4 separate regions of the Homo sapiens genome follow, and all the other regions are linked to region 1. The links are contacts of gene promoters, found by promoter capture Hi-C in blood cells and fetal thymus (Javierre and others, 2016). All regions are on one chromosome and are shown on one strand. Each heading gives the region's core, a stretch centred on a gene start or on the middle of the fragment in contact. The rest is flanking DNA. Distances are from core to core; before and after follow the strand shown. Region 1 holds the start of OR1N2 (olfactory receptor family 1 subfamily N member 2). Region 2 has its middle 11 kb from the start of OR1L6. Region 3 has its middle 3.0 kb from the start of OR5C1. Region 4 has its middle 4.4 kb from the start of OR1L4.

What was found. Contacts are between HindIII fragments. The CHiCAGO score rates a contact against its expected background, and 5 or more counts as called.
Region 2: a contact is called between a fragment that was not itself captured here and the fragment with the promoter of OR1N2 in region 1, in 5 of 17 cell types (endothelial precursors, monocytes, M1 macrophages and 2 more). The highest score is 6.8, in endothelial precursors.
Region 3: a fragment that was not itself captured here is called in contact with the fragment with the promoter of OR1N2 in region 1 in 3 of 17 cell types (M1 macrophages, endothelial precursors and megakaryocytes); the score reaches 7.8 in M1 macrophages.
Region 4: a contact is called between a fragment that was not itself captured here and the fragment with the promoter of OR1N2 in region 1, in 2 of 17 cell types (M1 macrophages and endothelial precursors). The highest score is 6.7, in M1 macrophages.

What each region holds. Positions count from the first base shown.
Region 1 is chr9:122,551,691-122,554,903 of GRCh38, forward strand. OR1N2 (olfactory receptor family 1 subfamily N member 2) reads left to right here and starts at 1,422. Exons shown (of 1, transcript NM_001004457.2): 1 at 1,422-2,524. The coding sequence starts at 1,522. The coding sequence ends at 2,472. It also overlaps a transcript of OR1J2 not described here and a transcript of OR1L8 not described here. The HindIII fragment of the contact is 1,550 bases long and covers 537-2,086 here.
Region 2 is chr9:122,751,931-122,754,951 of GRCh38, forward strand. No RefSeq gene overlaps it. Among named protein-coding and RNA genes, the nearest start is that of OR1L6, 11 kb to the left of the region's middle. The HindIII fragment of the contact is 2,066 bases long and covers 562-2,627 here.
Region 3 is chr9:122,784,376-122,787,424 of GRCh38, forward strand. No RefSeq gene overlaps it. Among named protein-coding and RNA genes, the nearest start is that of OR5C1, 3.0 kb to the right of the region's middle. The HindIII fragment of the contact is 2,865 bases long and covers 1-2,713 here.
Region 4 is chr9:122,726,700-122,729,985 of GRCh38, forward strand. No RefSeq gene overlaps it. Among named protein-coding and RNA genes, the nearest start is that of OR1L4, 4.4 kb to the left of the region's middle. The HindIII fragment of the contact is 2,487 bases long and covers 60-2,546 here.

The sequences.
Region 1 (3,213 bases), core at 172-2,671:
AGCTCCCCTAGGATCCAGCCAGAGTTGGCTGGAGAACAGGCTGCACAATGACACCGAGGTCGACCTTAACGAGCACATTGGGAGATGGTGTTCTAGGAGCCTTTATAACCTTAAGAGATATTCCTGTCTTCTTATGCCCGGGGAAGCTGAAATCGAGCCATACACTTCAGGTATTTCTAATAAACTCTGGACTCAATAGACCCCGACTTTATTGCCTCTGAGTCAGAAAGGTCTCAGAGTTTTTTATTATGAATTATCCATCCAAGGAAGAGAATTGGAGAATTTGAAGATGCCTAAAACTGATCCATAATCTGACAGGTGAGGATTTGGAAGGGGTAGGACACATACACACACACACACACATACACTCTCTCTCTCTCTCTCTCTCTCACACACACACACATATACACCTTCCTTCCCAGTTCGATGATCAGGTGACCAGGCAAAAGTTTCCTGGGAAAGTGCTGAGTCTCTGCCTAAGGTCAGAAGCTTCTCTATGAACCAAAGAACAAATGGAGGACTAAAATAGTTACAAAAGCTTCTAAGGCCAAACTTCTACAAGATCAATATGAAATGGTTTCTCCTACCAGCTCACTAGGGCAGCAAAAAAACAGACTGGTTATTTTCAAACCAAAAAGTCAGGGCGATACCTTTCACCTTCCCTCCCTCTGGTTAAAAGTAAATATTAGATAAATGTAGTACAAATGTAGGGGTGAAGGCACAGGTGAACTAAAATATCAGTTCCCAGAGCAGATAGAGATGCATAGCAGCAAAAAAGGGAAGAGGACAGGGATAAAGGAGAGGAAGTGATGGAAGGGAGAGAGTGGCTCCCTGTCCTATTTGTATGCGTGTGTGTGGGAGGGAACATCCTAACAGTGGATGGGGGAGTACGACACCAGACACCTACTGCCCTCAGCTCACATATCCTTTGCCGCTAGTTAGGAAAGAGTACAGGACTGGTTTGAATGGGTGAGGTCAAATTCTCAGCACTGAAAGGCAAGTGGGGAGGAAGCTATCTTGTCTTAAAAGTCAATTTCAGCCCCCACAAAGAGGGCTTGAGTGTGTGTGTGTGTGTGTGTGTGTGTGTGTGTGTGTGTGTGTGTGTGTTGGAGGAGGGGTAGGAGTTTGATGGAGATCATGCATCTTCTTTCCAATTGACAATAACAAATGGCTTTTCTAATCTTGCCATCAAGCTATTCTCAATTCTCACTTCCTCTAAATAGCCCATGCCAATTTCTCTGGTCAAACAAATCTCTTTTCTTTGGATTCTGCTATAGCATACAAAGCACAATTGAGATTTGAATGGATATTATCTTAACTGTTCTCTAAATGTCTCTTGGGTATTTCCTTGCATTCCCAGTGAGATTCAGAGATTCTTATTGGCAAAGACCATTTATTTTTCTTTTCTTTTTCTCCCAGCACAGTTCTGGCCACACAGATGCATATCTGTAAATTGATCTAATAAATAAATACTGACACATGGAAGGTTTTTATCTGCGCAGATCACACGAACTACAAGGGATGGGAAAACCAGGCAGAGTGAACCAAACCACTGTTTCAGACTTCCTCCTTCTAGGACTCTCTGAGTGGCCAGAGGAGCAGCCTCTTCTGTTTGGCATCTTCCTTGGCATGTACCTGGTCACCATGGTGGGGAACCTGCTCATTATCCTGGCCATCAGCTCTGACCCACACCTCCATACTCCCATGTACTTCTTTCTGGCCAACCTGTCATTAACTGATGCCTGTTTCACTTCTGCCTCCATCCCCAAAATGCTGGCCAACATTCATACCCAGAGTCAGATCATCTCGTATTCTGGGTGTCTTGCACAGCTATATTTCCTCCTTATGTTTGGTGGCCTTGACAACTGCCTGCTGGCTGTGATGGCATATGACCGCTATGTGGCCATCTGCCAACCACTCCATTACAGCACATCTATGAGTCCCCAGCTCTGTGCACTAATGCTGGGTGTGTGCTGGGTGCTAACCAACTGTCCTGCCCTGATGCACACACTGTTGCTGACCCGCGTGGCTTTCTGTGCCCAGAAAGCCATCCCTCATTTCTATTGTGATCCTAGTGCTCTCCTGAAGCTTGCCTGCTCAGATACCCATGTAAACGAGCTGATGATCATCACCATGGGCTTGCTGTTCCTCACTGTTCCCCTCCTGCTGATCGTCTTCTCCTATGTCCGCATTTTCTGGGCTGTGTTTGTCATCTCATCTCCTGGAGGGAGATGGAAGGCCTTCTCTACCTGTGGTTCTCATCTCACGGTGGTTCTGCTCTTCTATGGGTCTCTTATGGGTGTGTATTTACTTCCTCCATCAACTTACTCTACAGAGAGGGAAAGTAGGGCTGCTGTTCTCTATATGGTGATTATTCCCACGCTAAACCCATTCATTTATAGCTTGAGGAACAGAGACATGAAGGAGGCTTTGGGTAAACTTTTTGTCAGTGGAAAAACATTCTTTTTATGATTAGACATCTAGACGGTGATGTCTAATCTTGATCAACCCCTCCCTGTCTTCCATCACTTCAGTAATTCTACTACTGTCATGTTGATATTAGGGGAAGGTTATCCGTTGACTCTGAGTTAGGGATGTAAAAAAAAAAAAAAGAGTGTTTCATTCTTTTATTAGGCTGTGGAATGAGATGTTCTGTCTCAGCCTCTTTCCTGACCCCAGTGAGGCAACCATTACTAACAGCAAAACTACTATTCCTCCTCACATCTCTAAAACCAGCATATTAGCCATAGTGAACAAGGCATTTGTTATGAGGCTCTGGAGCTGAGCAATTCTACCCCAGCAAGGCAGGCATGGGATGAGGTGAAGGAAGGAGAATAGAAACATTTATTGACTATCCACAATGTTCCTCATTATTCCTTACATCAGTTACTTTAGGTAGAATTGTGAAAACTGTGAATTAGGATGCTAAATAACTTAACAAGTCAATTTATGCCTATCGACTCCCTTTCTATTTTACCACTTTGTGAGGATCATGACAAGGAAGGTGTGAGTGTACATCTAAGGTTAATATTGAATGATAACAATAGGAGAAAAAGAATTAATATATGTTATGGTATTCCTTACTATTTCATTTCTTTAACTTAAAAGCACTCTTCTGTTGTAGTAAATAGATTAAAAGTAATCAATATTTGTTGTACACCTACTAGTGCCAGATTTGTACTAACTACACCATCCGTTCTCTGAATTCTTTCA
Region 2 (3,021 bases), core at 345-2,844, 200 kb after region 1:
GGTTGTGCTATGGAAACAATCAACCTCAAAGTCTTAGGACCTTAAAACCAAAGGTTTATTTCTCATTCACATTGTAGGTCCACCATAGAAAAGTGTAAGTGTGCTACTTATTTTCAACATGCAGAGACCCAAGATCGTGGAGCAGTCACCACTGAAAACATTAATCATCACTCTGCCAGAAGCTGAGAAAGGCTCTTGGAGGTTTCACACTGGCAGTTAAAAACTCTGGCCCAGAAGTGACCCTCACCTCTTATGACCATAACTTATTGTCTAAAACACCTCTCATGACCCCACCCAAACGCAAGGCAGCCAGGAGGCACAATCCAACTATGTCCCTCTAAGATTTTAGAAAGCCAGAAGTATTTGATAAACCGCATTCATTACTACTACCCAACTATATTAACATACAAACACATCAGTGTGAATTAGTTGCTTCATCAGTTCTCCTGGATTGTGTTATTGTCAATAACAATAGTAATGTAACACTTACACACTGTCTGGGATTTTTCTGCTTCAATTATTTCATCAAGTTCCCACAACCATCAGCTTTTCTAGGTCACAAGCTTGTGTGGCAGGACCTGACGCTGAATACAAGTTTTTTGGCCTTAAAGATTTAGTAAGAGGTGAATGGTGTCCAAGGAAATACAGGGACACCTAGGTTCCGACATCAAGGTCCCTGCTAGTGCTTTCACTACGTGCTCCTAATTATAAGGGAGTAACCAGAAAGCCAGGAAAGAAACCCAAAGCAATAACCTTCGTGTTTGTACAGGCACACCTGGTTTTCACCACTATCTCTCACTGATCATTTGGTTTGTGGGATGCTGGCCTAGAAGATATGTACCATTTCCACTTACTCAATTTATGTGCCATAGTTTTCTCATGCTCAACCAAGTTCAATTAGCTACTTCAGAATGTTAGGAATATCTATATTAAATAAATCTATTCATAAATTATATGTATATTACATATACATTAAATAAACAAATTCATTAATTATGCCACCATTAACTTATAAATCCAATTAAGTTCTTTAGTCCTGAGAACACTAACTTACTTTTTTTTTTTTAACTTATTTTAAATTCCAGGATACATGTGCAGGACGTGTAGGTTTGTTACATGGGTAAACGTGTGCTATGGTGGTTTCCTGCACCTATCAACCCATCACCTAGGTATTAAGCCCCATATGCATTAGCTATTTATCCTGATGCTCTCCCTCCCCACTCCCACCCAGACCGCAGTGTGGGTTGTTCCCCTCCCTCTGTCCATGTTTTCTCGTTGTTCAGCTCCCACTTGTAAGTGAGAATATGCAGAGTTCAGTTTTCTGTTCTTGTGTTAGTTTGCTGAGGATAATAGATTCCAGCTCCATCCATGTCCCTGCAAAGGACATGATCTTGTTCCTTTTTATAACTTCATAGTATTCCATGGTGTATATGTACCACATTTTCTTTATGCAGTGTATCATTGATGGACATTTGGGTTGATACCATGTCTTTGCTATTGTGAATAGTGCTGCAATGAACATACGTGTGCATGTATCTTTATAATAGAATAATTTATATTCCTTTGGGTATATATCCAGTAATGGCACTGCTGGGTTGAATGGTATTTGTGGTTCTAGGTCTTTGAGGAATTGGCACACTATCTTCCACAATAGTTGAACTAATTTACATTCCCACCAACAGTATAAAAGTGTTCCTATTTCTCCAGTCTCACCAGCATCTGTTGTTTCTTGACTTTTTAATAATCACCATTCTGACTGTCATGAGATGGTATCTCATGGTGGTTATGATTTGCATTTCTCTAATGACCGTGATGTTGAGCTTTCTTTCATGTTTGTTGGCCGCGTAAATGTCTTCTTTTGAGAAGTGTCTGTTTATGTCTTTTGCCCACTTTTTAATGGGGTTGTTTATTTTTTTCTTGTAAATTTTTTAAGTTCCTTGTAGATTCTGGATATTTGACCTTTGTCAGATGGATATTTCTGATCTCACATTGCCATCAGCCCCAGACTTCTTTTTCTCAACAAATGCATGGCAAAAAAAAATCATAAAAGATGTTTTATGAATAATCCTAGAGATATTACCAAAAGTGTAAAGAAAAGGAAATTCTAGATAACAATTAACCACGAGAGTGCACTTTGGGATGAAAGAGTTCCTACTCTGACCCTCAGGTAAGTCCTAAACTTCTCAGTCAGAGCTGGAGTGTTTTCTCTGTCAAAATATGAAGCTACTTCCCACAAGACATCCTGTCACTCTTCAGAAGGAAAGAACTGCCATGAGCAAGGAGTATCTACAAAGTGTAGTAAGATTTTTGCTGTCCAATCAAGAGAGTCCAGAAGTCAACCTAGAAAGTCACTAATAAGCATGAGTAAGAGGAAATAAATAGATTATGAAGGTAGATATAATCACAGGGAGGGATTTCAACAGGCCTCTGGACATCTTGTCACATTGTCTCAAATGCTGCTACATAGTCCTTGAGAGTAGACAAGGAATCTCCTTGCCAGCTCCTTGTTTCACCATATTGGTATCCAGAAGGCTGGCTGAATACAATAGAGAAATAATACCATAGGTCTCTCATTTGTTGACAAAACACAAAAAGTTTAAAAAAATGTATTGGGTTTTTCCAATGTAAGCTTATTACATATATACAAATATTTGAGATTTAGCTCAATACTGAAATAAGGGGAATTCAGTTCACTGAACATATTTTACCTGTTTATCAGAGTAAGTGATGACAATTAGGAAGAGTGTGTAGCATGAGACCCAAGAAAAAAGTAGGGAAGAGGGCAGAGTATTTCTGGCATTGAAGAATCTAATAGAGAAAACATTATCAAAGAGGAATTAAAAGGAGTAGTCATAGAATTCAAGAGAAGAGTAAATTTGAAGAGGCAGGAGCCATTAACTGGTATCAAAATATGATGACAGTTTAACAAAATAAGGCTGAAGGTTGTCCATTGGCTTTAGTGACATGGTGGTGATTCATAACTTTGGTGAATGTGCAATGGAGAAATGGAAAACGAGCCAG
Region 3 (3,049 bases), core at 31-2,530, 230 kb after region 1:
TAGCACCGAAGAGCAAACGCAGAAGTTGCTCCTTATGAAAACCTGAGTCCTCCTCTTTTATTAGCAAGTCCCACACTGACGTACACAACCCTAGAACGTCAATATTGCTCCTCCTGGGTAGTGAGGCGAGAGAGAGAGACGTTAATGGAGAATTAATTCTATGTTTTGTGTGTGCAAACACACACACTCCACAATACCTACTTAACTGAAGTTTGTGGGTACTTGTACCCAAAACATTCAAAGTACCTTAAAAGTCCTGAAGTCTCGTTGTCCCTATTTTACAGATGGAGAAATGGAGAGGCACTCAAAGCACCTCTGCTCCTCACTCGGTAAAGGTGAGTTGCATTTGCTTTCCATGTGGACAGACTGAAATACAAAGGGGTTGGCCACCCACTGGGTTCTGTGTGCAGAACTTCGGCCAGGTAGCAGACTTCATTCTTGGAGAACAGGTAGTTGAGTAGAACTGGAACTCCCTGTTTCTGTACCCCTGGAAGCTGTCTGACCTCCACCAGTGACACACCAAGGAGAAGGAGGAAGATACCTAAAATCCTGTATGCCTATGGACAGAGGGGTGAATTAAGCACAGTCCCAGATCTTAAGATGCTTGATCAGGTGAGAGGAGATAAGCATGTAGGTAATTATACAACAATGGAATAATGATATGATGCAGAGAGACTGGTGAGTGGAGTTCCAGCATGAGAGGATGGGCAGTTGGGTGCTCAGATAAAGATGACCCCTAAGCTGAATCTTAAAAGATAAGAAGGATCAGCTCTGACATAGCAGGGGGCAAAGGCCATGGAATCCTCTGAAATGCCCTCAGGTCTTTTAGCTGGAGCCCCATCTCTGTTTGGAGCAGACAGCAGTATGTCTTATATACACATACATTAAAAAAACATATGTTATGAGTTTTTTCATCAATCTGTATATTTTTTCTGAAAATTATGTTTTGATCTCAATATGTTCTTGAGATTTCTCTATATTGTTATATAGAGGTTGACTCCATTCCTGTTTAACTCCCATGAGCCTACTGATAAACATTTAGGTTTGACTAACATTTATTTAGCCATTACAAATAGTCCAGGAATGCATGCTCCCTTGTCTCCTTCTGTATACATGAGAGGGTTTTCAAAAGTAAACACCAAGTAGTGGAATTACCAGGTGCTATGGACTGAATGTTTACATCCCCAAAAAATTCATGTTGAAATTCTAACCCCCAATATGATGGTATTTGGAGAAGGAGCCTTTGGGAGGTAATTAGGTCTAAAACTATTTAGGTCATTATGGTGGCATCTATGATAATGGGATTGGTACCCTTATAAGAAACCAGAGAGCTTTCTCTGTCTCTCTGTCCCCAACCTGTGACAATACAGTAGGAAGGTGGCCATCTACAAGCCAGAAGGAGGGCTCTCACTAGAACCCAACCATGCTGACATGCTAACCACAGACTTCCCAGTTTCCAGGACCATGATAAATAAATGTCTGTTGTTTAAGCCACCCAGTCTATTGGCATTTTGTTATAGCAAACTGAGTAGCTTAAGACACTGGGGCGTGCACAGTGGTCGGAAATGTCCCAGTTTACATTTCCACAAGCACAACCTCACCAACGTGATATTGTCAAAATTTTTCATCCAATTTGTGCTTTGTAGGAGATTTTCACCATCCTCACTGGGCACAGGTAAGTCCCAAACATCTAAACTTCTCTTAAAAGGAGGGGAAGAAGAATTTATTCAGCTCCGGGCCCCTTCCTGCACACCTATTGCCTCTTAAAAACCTCCACAGAGATATTATGATTCCTACTTTGCAAGGAGAAAACCAAAGTTAAGGGAGGTGAAGTGACTTGCCTGAAGTTACACACCAGAAAGTTGTGGAACTAGGACTCAAAAGCAAGTGTTCATGCTGCTAATGTCTGTACTCTTGTTCACTGTGTTATGGACTCAACTAACATTTTTTGAGCTCTGATTATATACCTCACCCTGGAGATACAAAAATGAATTATGGGGCATTCTTAGCACACAGTAATGCTCAATAAAACTTTGTTGAATGAATATTGAATCAAGGAGCTCAAAGTTCACAGGAGACACACATGTAAAAGATATTTGCAATAGAATGGTGAAGCAGCATGAGAGAGGTACAGCAGTTGTTCCCCTTTACCCACAGTTTTGCTTTCTGCAGTTTCAGTTACCTGCAGTCAACTGTGACCCGAAACTATTAAAAACAGGCTGGGTGCAGTGGCTCACACCTGTAATCCCAACACTTTGGGAAGCCGAGACAGACGAATCACCTGAGGTCAGGAGTTCGAGACCAACCTGGCCAATGTGGTGAAACCCCATCTCTACTAAAAATACAAAAAAATTAGCTGGGCATGGTAGCACACACCTGTAGTCCCAGCCACTCAGGAGGCTGAGGCAGGAGAATCACTTGGACCTAGGAGGTGGAGGTTGCAGTGAGCCGAGATCACACCACTGCACTCCAGCCTGGGTGACAGAGTGAGACTCCATCTCAAAAAAAAAAAAAACAAAAACAAAACAAAACAAAACAAAACAAAACAAAAAAAAAAAAAATATATATATATATATATATATATAAAAGTAAGATATTTTGAGGGACAGAGAGAGAGACCATATTCACCTAACTTGTATTATAGTACATTGTTATAATTGTTCTATGTTATTATTGTTGTTGTTATCCCTTACTATGCCTAATTTATAAATTAAGCTTTATCATGGATATGAATGTATAGGGAAAAAAATCACATATATAGGGTTCAGTACGATCTGTGATTTCACACATCCACAGGGGGTCTTGGAACGTATTCCCCATAGATAAGGGGGAACTACTGTATGCTCCAGTGCAGCAGGCCACAGACAAGAAAAATGTTTAGTTTTAAGGGACAGATCAGGGAAGGCTTCACACTGGAGAAACTTTTTACCAAACACAAAAGGAGGAAATGGGTTCCAGGCAAAGAGGACAAATGCAAGGCACAGGAGTGTGAAGCAACATTGCATTTTCTGGGAATTATACTACTTTTGATTGCCATAAAGTTGCTTCC
Region 4 (3,286 bases), core at 53-2,552, 170 kb after region 1:
AGTGGAAACCACATGGATTTGGTAGGAAATTGGAAAGAACTTTTTGGAAAAGTGACATAAGCTTATCCTTAAAATAGACTGAATTTTGACAAAGGAAGTTCCAAAGGATGAGGAAATGGCCAACGCATTTCACATAGTAAAAACCAGCCAAGCACACAGAGGCAATACATTTTGGAATATTTTTTAGAAACACTGAAAAACCCTGTGAGTCTTATTCAGTTTGAGGGTAAGGACAATCCAATCGAACAGATAGAATGATCCAAAAAGAATATTTACTCCACCCCCCAACACCAAAGTGTCATGACAGTATGAGTTCTCAGTACCCTACCCCTTTTCCCTCTTTTTTTTTTTTTTTTTTTTTGAGATGGAGTCTTGCTCTGATGCCTAGTCTAGATTGCAGTGATGAGATCTCAGCTCACTGCAAACTCTGCCCACTGGGTTCAAACAATTCTCCTGCCTCAGCCTCCCTAGTAGCTGGAATTACAGGCATGTGCCACCATGCCCAGCTAAGTTTTGTACTTTCAGTAGAGATGGGGTTTTGCCATGTTGGCCAGGCTGGTTCCCTTCTGTTTTTTAAGAGACAGGGTCTCACTCTGTCACCCAAGCTGGAGTACAGTGACACAATCATAGCTCACTGTACCTCAAATTCCAGGGCTGAGTGATCCCATTCCTTTTTAATTCCTCTGTTCTTATGTCCAGCATCCTCACTAAGCTACCCTTTATATCTTAGAAAAAGCCATGTTTGTCAGTCAGGATAAGCTAGGATATACTGTGGAAATAAACAATCTCCAGTTGGATCTTAAAACTAAAGGTTATTATAATTTTCCCTAAACATCCACCATAGAAAAATATAAGGATGCTGCTCATTTTAACCAATCAGGGGTCCAAAATGGTAGATCAGGCACCACTGTGAACATTGATCATCATTCTGTCAGAAGCTGAGAAAGACACTGGAAGATTTTACATTGCCAACTAAATATTCTAGTCCAGAAGTGACCCACGCCACTTCTGACCATAACTTATCGTCCAAAACACATCCCATGACCCCACTCAAACACAAGGGAGCCAGAAGGCACAATCCAACCAGGTGCCTCTAAGATGGAGAGGCAGAAGTATTTGATGAATAGCATTAATGACTGCTACATAGCTCTATTAACACACAAACATATCAATGTACATCAGGTGCTTTATTAATCCTCCCTAATGATGTTATTGTCAATAAAAATAGTCATGTAGGAAAATTTCTGCCTCAATTATTTCAGCAAGTTTTCACAACCACCAGCTTTTCTGGGTCGCAGGCTTGTTAATGGCAGGACTTGAAGTTGAATACAAGTCTTTTGGCCTTAAAGATATAGCAAGAGGTGTGTAACGGTCTTATGGAACACAGGGACACCTAGCCTACAACATCAGGGTTCCATTCCTGTCACCCTTTTCACTAAATCCTCCTAATTATAAGGAAGTAACCAGCAAGCCAGAAAAGCTAATTTGCAGTAGCCTCTGTATTCGTTTAAGCACACCTGACTTTTACCACTATCTCCCACCAATCACTTGATTTTGAGATGCTGGCCTAGAAGACATATTTACTTTCTATTTCCTTTATTTATATGTCATAGTTTTCTCATACTCAACTAAGTGCCATAGCAACTTTAGAATGTGAGAATTCCTGGCATATATTAATAAATAAATTCACTAATTACAGCCTACAATAATTTTTAAAGCTAATTAAGCCCTTTGACCCCAAGAATCATAACTTTTATTTTTCAGTTCTGAGATCGGCCTGACTTTTTTTCCTCAACAAGTGCATGGCCACTAAAAAAAATCACGATTTTTTTTAATGAAAAACTTTAAGATATTCCCAGAAATTCAAACTAAAAGAAATTCTAAATAACAAGTGACCATGAGATAGCACTTTGGGATAAAAAAAGTTTCCAGTCTACCCCTTTGGTAAATCCTAAACTTCTCAGTTGGAATTGGAGGATTCTCTGTCAGGATATGATGCCAGTTTCCCCAAGTCACAATAAGGGACTGTCAGTGGGTAAGAAGCATCTGAAGACTTTAATAAGATTTTTTCTTTTCAAACATGAGAGCCCAGATGTTAACTCAGAAATGTGCTAATAAGCATCAGTAAGAGGAAAAAAAAATCTTTCTTGAAGGTAGATATAATCAGAAGAAGGGTCTACGCAGACCTCTGAGCATCTTGCCACATCAGGTGGAATGCTAGAATACAATAGAATAATAATACTATAAGCCTGTCCTTTGTTAAAAGAATTATAAATGTATTGAGTCCTTTTAGTGCAAGTTCATTTCAAAAACATAAATATTAGAGATTTTGCTCAATACTGAACTAAAAAAAAAATCCAGCTCATTGAACATATGTTGCCTGTCTATTAGAGCAAATGATATCAACTAGGAACACTGTGTAGCATGAGTTCTGAGGAGAATGTGAGAGAAGAATAAAAAGTATTTCTGGCATTGAAAAGTTTGATAGAGAATATATTATTGAGGGGGACTTAATAGGAATAGTCACAGAATCCAAGAAAAGAGGAAGCTTCAAGAGGCAGGGGCTATTAATAAGTGACCAAATATGATGAAAGTTTAATAAGCAAAGTAAGCCTGAAGATTGTTCATTGGCTTTAATGATATGGTGGTCATTGATGCCCTTGGTGAATTGGCAATGGAGAAATGGAAAAGGAGCCAGATTGGAATATGTTAAGGAATAAATGGAGGTGAGAATCTGGAGACAGTGATTATAATTTGTGTCAATGTTGTTCTATTGTTTTGTGGCTTGCATTGCTTCTAAAGAGAAATCAGCTATCATTTTTATCTTTGTTTCCCTCTTAGGTAAATTGTTTTTTTGTCCTGGCTGATTTTATTTTTGGTTTTTAACAATTTGACTATAGCTCAGCTGTATATGGAATTATTTATGTTTATCTGGCTTGGGGTTTATTGAGCTTCTTGGATCTTGGAAAGATATTTTTCTTCACATTTGGAAAAATTTAGTCCAATGTTTATTCAAATATCATTTTGCCCCAAACTCTCTCCTCTCTTTGTGGGGCTCTAATTATATGATTGTTAGACCTTGGAGGGCAGCTTAGATTTTTTAATCCCTCTAAGTAGCCTCATGAAAATGGGACAACTAGAACACTAAAACAAGAACAACTTGAAGACACAAAGAATTCCCATAAATCCCCAAATACAGGAAGCTAGAGACAAATAACCAACAGTTACATGATCCATATGTTTTTAGAATCTGCGCAGGAGGAAACAGAGGCAACCAACAGTATCT